Linked DNA regions of Homo sapiens: regions 2 and 3 are each linked to region 1. The links are contacts of gene promoters, found by promoter capture Hi-C in human tissues and cell types (Jung and others, 2019). All regions are on one chromosome and are shown on one strand. Each heading gives the region's core, a stretch centred on a gene start or on the middle of the fragment in contact. The rest is flanking DNA. Distances are from core to core; before and after follow the strand shown. Region 1 holds the start of KBTBD12 (kelch repeat and BTB domain containing 12). Region 2 overlaps MGLL (monoglyceride lipase). Region 3 has its middle 12 kb from the start of ABTB1.

What was found. The method cuts DNA at HindIII sites, captures the fragments that hold promoters and counts their contacts. A contact is called where the count stands out against the background at its distance.
Region 2: a fragment that was not itself captured here is called in contact with the fragment with the promoter of KBTBD12 in region 1 in 1 of the 25 tissues and cell types used here (spleen).
Region 3: a fragment that was not itself captured here is called in contact with the fragment with the promoter of KBTBD12 in region 1 in 1 of the 25 tissues and cell types used here (hippocampus).

The regions. Positions count from the first base shown.
Region 1 is chr3:127,913,981-127,916,680 of GRCh38, reverse strand. KBTBD12 (kelch repeat and BTB domain containing 12) reads right to left here and starts at 1,449. Exons shown (of 6, transcript NM_207335.4): 1 at 1,095-1,449. All of the region lies in intron 3 of LOC107986129 (a long non-coding RNA gene), which reads left to right. LOC124909427 (a long non-coding RNA gene) reads right to left here. Exons shown (of 2, transcript XR_007096071.1): 2 at 2,015-2,335. The HindIII fragment of the contact is 11,252 bases long and covers 1-2,700 here.
Region 2 is chr3:127,768,958-127,771,657 of GRCh38, reverse strand. All of the region lies in intron 3 of MGLL (monoglyceride lipase), which reads left to right. Among named protein-coding and RNA genes, the nearest start is that of MGLL, 52 kb to the left of the region's middle. The HindIII fragment of the contact is 6,453 bases long and covers 1-2,700 here.
Region 3 is chr3:127,683,221-127,685,920 of GRCh38, reverse strand. No RefSeq gene overlaps it. Among named protein-coding and RNA genes, the nearest start is that of ABTB1, 12 kb to the right of the region's middle. RefSeq lists enhancers at 189-318, 709-818, 2,625-2,700. The HindIII fragment of the contact is 4,293 bases long and covers 1-2,700 here.

The sequences.
Region 1 (2,700 bases), core at 200-2,699:
TAGCTGTCAACATGCTAAGCTGAAATATTCCAGCATCTACTGAAAAAAATGAAAGGTATGGCAACACTGAGTCCTTAATTCCCAAGCGGCAACAATGTGCAGGACCTGAGTACCCAGCTGCCACCTCTCAGCTGGCACATCTGCTGGGCCCCATTATCCTCTTTGAGACCTGAGGGACAGTCATTATTTGTAATTCTTACGCTGTTGCTTTTCTCTTTCCTGTCCATTTACATTATCCTACAGCCATTTAAGTTTGTGACCCCCAGTTTATACGATTACGTCTCCACACCCTATTTTGTTTCAGCAACACCATCTTGCTAAAATCCTACGCTTGCAGAGGCTGGTAGGAAATGGCTGAGAACACACGCACCACCCTAAATGTACTCTGTGCTTCTCACTAGCATGGAAAAAGACCTGATTCATTTCATAATAATCCATCCCACACACCGGGCATCCAGTAACAGCCAGGCACATGGATGATAAAGACAAATAAGACCAGTTTTCTTTTCTTTTCTTTGCCGAGTTCACACTGTTTTGCATTCTCACAGTGCTTTATACTTTTCAAAGTGCTTTAATCCGCATTATAGCTCATTAGTTCCTCTTAAGAATCATTTGGGGGAAAATGTAGGGCAATTATTCTCCTGGCTTTAAAGTTAAGAGAGTTGCTCAGGGATACATTCAGGGTTTATTAAACTTAAACGAACCCTTCTAAGTGCCAGGCACTATCCTAGGTTCCGGGAAGACAACCAGGAACAGGGAAGTGCCCCTTACCTTTGTTGTGCTTACAGTCTAGCGACGGAAGGCACAATAATACATTGGTCAGGTAATTCGGAGGATGATAATACTATGCAGACTACGAGCCTGAACAACCCGACGGTGAAGGTCGGAGACGGCAGAGATGGCCTGGAGGAGCAGCTCCTGGGAGCCCCACCTGACGCCAGGCGCCGGCCCACTGCGACTCGAAGGAAGTCACTTAGAGCCGAGGCTGCAAGTGCCGGTGGCCCCGGGTCGGCGCCCAGGTTCAACCTGGCCCGGAGTTGAGGCAGGGCTTGTGACTGGGGGCCGCGTTCCCCCGGGGCGCTACCCCTACTTACGAAGGTGCTGCCTGGTTCGGGGCGCGTCCCCACTCGCTGGGCCACGACCTGGCTTGGACGCTACCGTGTGGCAGGGCGGCCAGCGGGCCTGACTGAGGCCACTGCCCAATATGGGCCTGTGCTGGCTGGGCGATATAAATAGAGGTCCCGCGCCCTGCGGAGGAGGAGGGAGGGCGCTGGCAGCGCCTCCGAGGGGACAGGTGCTGCCCTCTGCTTGGAAGTGGCCCGAGACCACGCCGCCGCTGCCCTCCAGCCACTGTGCGCCTGCGCACCTATTCCCGCGCTGGTTCCAGACGGCGACTACAGCCCCGGTGTCGCTGCACAGGGTCTCCCCGCGCGCGTCCCGTACCCTACTGAGCGTCCCCCGCGGAACGCTGTGCGCCTGCGCAGAGTGTTCCCGCGCTGGCCCGCGTGCCAGAGCGACTGAAGGCCTGCGGGGAGGGGATGGGGACAAGTGTTTAAAGGAGGTTTGGAAATCGAGCTTTGAAAAATGCCGGTGTTCCCGTTAGTCTTTTACACTTGCAAAATGACCAAAAGACCCCGTGTGTAGTCTCACTGTGACCGGGGGGTAGGGTTGCCCGGTAAAATACATGAGCCCAGTTAAAGGTAAATTTCAGATACACAACCAGTAATTTTTAGTGTTAAGTATGTCCCAAATATCGCATGGTCAATTCACGTTTAACTCGGTGTTCCGGTTGGGTTTCGTTTTGGTCTTGTATTTTTATTTGCTACATCCTGAGCCATCAGCTTGTGATTTTTATACCCTACACCTCTCTGAGAGTGGGAGGTTTCCAGGAGTCCCGAGAAAGGACTGGTTAGCCGGGAGCAGTGCAGGGATGGGAAGTCTTCCTTAGGCAAGTGTCATAAAATACGGCAGCTGTATTAGCTCAGTTAGCTTAAACCAAAGCAAAATAAAACTGTTTTCAGTGGTGGCAACATAACTTTATTATCTTACTATTATTTTAGCTCTGTAGGTCAGAAGTCCAAAATATGTCTCACTGGATTGAAATCAAGGTGTCAGCAGGACTGTGTTTGTTTCTGGGGCTTCCTGGAGTGAATCTGTCCCTGCCCTTTTGCAGCTTCTGGAAACTGTCTTCATTCTTTTGCTCCTGGCTCCTTCCTCCAGCTTCAAAGCCAGAAAATAGGGCTGAGTCTTTCTCACATGCATTGTGTCTGCAGTTGGTTCCTTTCAGTGGGCTTGTGGTCTCCATCTCGCTAACTTCAAGAATGAAGCCACGGACCTTAAATGTTAAAGAAAGCTTTAAAGGTCACATGGACCCAAACAGTGAGGAGCAGCAAAATTTATTGTGAAGAGCAAAAGAACAATGCTTCCACAACCTAGAAATGGACCTGACTGGGTTCCCTGTGTTGACTGGGTGGCCAGCTTTTATTCCCTTATTTGTCCCTGCCCATGTCCTGCTGATTGGTCCATTTTACCAAGTGCTGATTGGTCCATTTTACAGTGTGCTGATTGGTCCATTTTACAGAGTGCTGATTGGTCCATTTTACAAACCTCTAGCTAGCCACAGAGAGCTGATTGGTGTGTTTTTACAGAGTGCTGATTGGCCCATTTTAGAAACCTCTAGCTAGCCACAGAGCGCTGATT
Region 2 (2,700 bases), core at 180-2,679, 150 kb after region 1:
AAGGCCGGGCTTGGTGGCTCACACCTGTAATCCCAGCACCTTGGGAGGCTGAGGGGGAAGGACTGCTTGAGCCCAGGGGTTTGAGACCAGCCTGGACAACATGTCAAAACCCTGTCTCTTAAAAAACACAAAAATTAGCAGTGCTTAAAGGTGCATGCCTATGATCTCAGCTACTTGGGAGACTGAGGCAGGAGCTACTTGGGATCGCTTGAACCCAGGAGGTCAAGGCTGCAGTGAGCTGTGATTTCACCACTGCACTCCAACCTGGGCGACAGAGCGAGACCCTATCGCAAAAAATAAAATAAAATGCATAACTGGAGGAAGACAGAAATAGTAAAGGGTTGCCTTGTGATGAGCAGGACCAGAGGGAGGATGGTCGCTGGGTCCACGAAGCTCACGGTGAGCAGAGAGCAGCTGCCTCTGCTCCTGTTGGTGCAGGAGCCAGGCTTTCAAGGAGGCAGGATTGGGAGGGTAACTGCCTGAGGCAATGAGCAGTTGTGGTTCCTGCTTACATGGGCTTGGTTAGCACAAATTGTAGGGTTGAGACATAGGCAGATGGGGGTTTAAGCAGGCTTCTGGGGCCTAATCAGGGACAAGCAGCATAAAGAGAAAGAGGAAATTGGTAAATCATTCAGTCTTGTGACCTTGGACACACATCCTTGTGACCCTGGGCACCTTGCCTGTGACCCTAGATACCTAGCCTTTCCTGGGCTCCCAGCCTTATGACCTCGACGCTCACCCTTGTGACCTTGAGTACCCAGCCTTATAACCTTGGGTGCTCAGCCTTGTGACCTTGAGCTCTCAGCCTGTGACCCTTGGCACTCACCCTTGTGACCCTGGACACCCAGCCTTGTGACCTTGGGCAAGTCACTGATCCTCTGACCTTGGATCACAGGCCAAGTGGTTAAAGATGTTTAAAGACTCCAACAGGGTTTTGTGGCCTGGTTTTGCTCCGTACAGCCCTGCCTCCTGGAGACTATTCCATATTCTTAGATATTCACTGTTCATTTACGGGACTCCCTCTATGCAGCTGCACCTGGCCCTCACGCCTTAGTTCTTTGACCAACCCATGCCACGGCTTGGGCATGACACTCTCCCTCCTGCCATCTCGGTTCTTTCTGAAAGGTGAAGAGACCTGGAGTGGATGAGGGAAGTTCCAACTGCCCTGGGGAGCCTATATCCTCCAAGGGGCTGTGGGGAGGGTCCCAGAAACCTAGAGGGCTGAGCACTGCATTCTTTCCCACCTTATGCAGGGCCATTCAGCTCTTTTTCTGTACAATATTTCATTTGATTAAAGGATTCACTTAAAAAAAATGTTTCAGGGTGAGGCATTACAGTGGGATTACAGTGGTTCACATCTGTAATCCCAGCACTGTGGGAGGCTGAGGTGGGAGGATCGCTTGAGGCCAGGAGTTTGAGACCAGTCTGGGCAATAGGATGTGACTCTGTCTCTACAAAAATAATACAAAAATTAGCTGGGTGCAGTGGCGTGCACCTGTCCCCGCTACTTGGGAGGCTGAGGTGGAAAGATCACTTGAGCCCAGGAGATTGAGGATTTAGGAAGTTTCTTCCACTTCTAGAATTCTCTGATTCTAAATGAGAAACTAGGTATGAAAGCTCTTTGCGAGTTACAAGGGAGGATAGTTATGAAGAGAGGCACCTTATTGCTGTTGCAGCAGAGCGGCCTGGGGAAGGGCAGGCTGATGTCGAGATGACAGGTGGAAGAAGAAAGCAGCCATGGCGCGCGCCGGTCACTGAGCTGAGCACTCACAGGAGCCCCGCTCCATCCTCAGGACAGACCCCCCAGCACTCTGACGGGGCTTCGGGGGTGGGGTGTTGTGGGGTGGAGGCAGGGAGGCTGCTCTGCTCTCCCTCCACTCAGCAAGTATTTATTGAAACTCACTATGTGCCTGCACTGTCTGGGCACTGGGGAAATGCTGAACCAAACAGACATCAGCTTGCAGCCTCTTGGAGCTCACTTGCTACTTAAATATGTTCAGTCCCTCAGGGCTAAGCCACCCGGGCTGGCAGCTCAGGGTCCAGTACTCCCTGGACCTGGAGAAGACCTCAGCTCTGATGGCAGCCTCCCCCTCACCAGCCTCCCTGGGCCTTGCCATCTTCATCTGAGAAGTGGGGAGGATGCACTACCTCCGTCACAGGGTTTTAGTGTGGACTATGGCACTAAGTGAGGGCAGCGTCTAGGTGATGCAGGTTAGTTGAACTTTTGAAATGCCAGTTGTTTAAAAATTGATTTGTAGGAAGCTTATGGTCAAAGACAATCCAATTCTTTTTTTTTTCTTTTTTTTTGAGATAGAGTCTTGCTGTGTTGCCCAGGCTGGAGTGCAATGGCATGATCTCAGCTCACTGCAACCTCCTCCTCCTAGGTTCAAGCAATTCTCCTGCCTCAGCCTCCTGAGTAGCTGGGATTACAGGTGCACACCACCACGCCTGGCTAATTTTTTATTTTTAGTAAAGACGGGGTTTCACCATGTTGGCCAAGCTGGCCTCAAACTCCTGGCATCAGGTGATCTGCCCACCTCAGCCTCCCAAAGTGCCGGGATTACAGGCATAAGCCACCGCTCCTGGCCTGACAATCCAACTCTTTCTAGCAGAGTTTTACCCAGAGACTCCATATGCTGAACTGAAAGGAACCATCTCTAGATATGAGGGCTGTGAGTATGGTAGTGGTTCTCAAAGTGT
Region 3 (2,700 bases), core at 131-2,630, 230 kb after region 1:
CAGAGAATGGATGAGTCCATGAGTGAGGGGATGAATAAATGAGGAAATGAGTGAGCGAGAGAATGGTTGAGTGAGGGAGTGATGAAGGAATGAATGAGTGGCCAAGGGAGGGAGAGAGGGATGGAAAGAGGGAGGAAGGAGGCAGGAAGGCTTTATCTGAGCCAGGCACTGAGCTGGGAACTGGGTGTGGAAGCAGGGTTGGCCTCGCAGCCTGGCCACCCATGCAGAGGCCCAGACCCCACCCTAGAAGGTCCGTGCGTTTGGGTGAGTGCTCTACTGTTGCTCTCTGGAAATTCTTAATGCTCTTTGAGCAAGGTCCCCACGTGCTGTTTTGCACTGGACCCTGCAAACCACTCAGGCCCTGGGTGGGTGGCACCTGGCCTCTGTGCAGAAGGTCCCCCAAAGGTGTGCAGACCTGAAGGACAGCCCGTTCTCTCCACGTCCTCATGCTCTACTTATGGCCAACCAAATTCTGCCTGGAACTTCACTGTATCAAACCTAGAGCCAACAATGTTTGCATTTGTTGGCTTTTCCAGCCTCCTCCATGAACACTCAGGCTCATCACAAGCCCCTTACTGGGCACCTGTGATGCTCCAGGCACGGTGTCCAGCGCTGGGAGGAACCCAGCGCTGCACGGTGACCAGGGCAGAACAAGGTGGGCCGCCCTCACAGAACAAGGACCCCGGGCGACATGGACTCCCACCCCAGAGCCTAACAGCGATGGGCACCCAGTGTCCGCCAGCACAGCCTGGGGCCAGCACAGCCCTCCAGAAGCCAAAGGTGAGCAGGAGCGGGCCGGGGTTGGGGGCACAGCAGAGGGGTCTGCGGGGGAGTTTTCGAGGTGCAGAGAGCTCAGGGCGGCCCCAAAACTGAGAGACTCTCAGGATGGCTGGAGCACAGGTGTGAAGGGCATGGTCATTCGGGGCCCTGCAGGAAACAGCTGCACCTAACCAAGGGTGGTGTCACTAAAGGGGTCAGCAGCAGATGATGCAGCGTCCAAGACCAGCCACAGCAGGGAGCAGACCCTCAGAGCAGCAGTTGCTGCGGGAGAGGACCACCTGTCGGTTGGGGGCTTTAGGTAGAGGGTTGCCCAGCCCCACCTTCACTCTTCTTCCTCTTCTGGTGGGTCAACAAGCCATCCCTATACTACCTTTCCTGTGCAAAATGGAGTTTATTTCCTTTCCATCATTGCTCATTTTGTCATTGTCCAGTTGATTTTTCTTTTTTTTTTTCTGAGACAGCGTCTCACTCTGTTGCCCAGGCTGGAGTGCAGTGGTGCAGTCACAGCTCACTGCAGCCTCAACCTCCTGGGTTCAAGCTACCTTCCCACCTCAGCCTCTAGAGTAGCTGGGACTACAGGCTCGCGCCACCACACCCGGCTAATTTTTTATTTTTTGGAAAGACAGAGTCTCAGTGTGCTGCCCAGGCTGGTCTCAAACTCCTGCGCTCAGACCATCCTCCTGCCTCAGCCTCCCAAAGTGCTGGGATTACAGGCGTGAACCACCAGTCTATTTTTCTGTCTGTTAAAAATTTGTGGGTATCTTGAGTTGGGAGAGAATACATATAATTTTTCCAATAACACATGATGAAAATATTTTTCATTCAACAATAAAATTTTTTTTTCACCTGGGAGTGGGAATGAATTAAAGAGATAAACATGTTTTGTTTTATTTTTAATTTTAAAGGTAGCACAGCTACATTACAGAAACTAAACAGAAATCAGATCAAATATCCCCAGCTCTCACGCAGCAACTCTTCCTCTGGTTTAGGGATGATGGAGGAGTCTCAAACCCAGGGCCTCTGTGTCAAAATGTGTCTTCTATTAGTCTATTTTAACATTTGTCAGAGTAGAGCACACTTCTGAATTTAAATCAACCCAATTTTAGAACCAAGTATTAGACACTAAATTTCAAATTCCATGGTTGTAGTTCACTACTCCTGTGTGGCTGTCTGTGCTACAGGTTTCTCACATAAGCCTGGGGAGCACCCCCTAGTGCCTGAATGTCCTCCACCTTTTCCTTGTGGACACAGAAGCTTCACTGACCACCCTCGTAGTTACAGGAAGCTCTGCGCATCCATGCTCTCTGTTCCTTCCCCACTTGCTGCTCGCTGCGGCTGCTGGCAATGCTTCCTGTTGATTTGCAATACCGCATTGGACACCTTCCTACATAAGTGTTTCCCCATCGCGCTGTCTTCTCTGCCTGAGGCTAAAGTGAGGAATGGGGCCGGGTGCAGTGGCTCATGCCTGTAATCCCAGCACTTTGGGAGGCTGAGGCGGGCGGATCACTTGAGGTCAGGAGTTCGAGACCACCCTGGCCAGCATGGTGAAACAATGTCTCTACTAAAAATATGAAAATTAGCTGGGCATGGTGGTGGGCGCCTGTAGCCCCAGCTACTCTGGAGGCTGAGGCACGAGAATCATTTGAACCTGGGAGATAAAGGTTGCAGTGAGCCGAGATCACACCACTGTATTCCAGCCTGGGTAAAAGGGCTAGACTCCGTCTCAAAAAAATAAAATAAAATAAAATAAAATAATAAAATAAAATAAAGTGAGAAATGGTGTGGTGTGGCTGGGGAATGCTGCCCCAACAACCACACAGCCTAGTTCCTGAGGGGTGGCAGTTCTCAGACTGCAGCTCTCCCTGAACAGGTGCCATAGCTGGTACACCTGGCTGTATGTATCTGCTGTATCAGTGAACC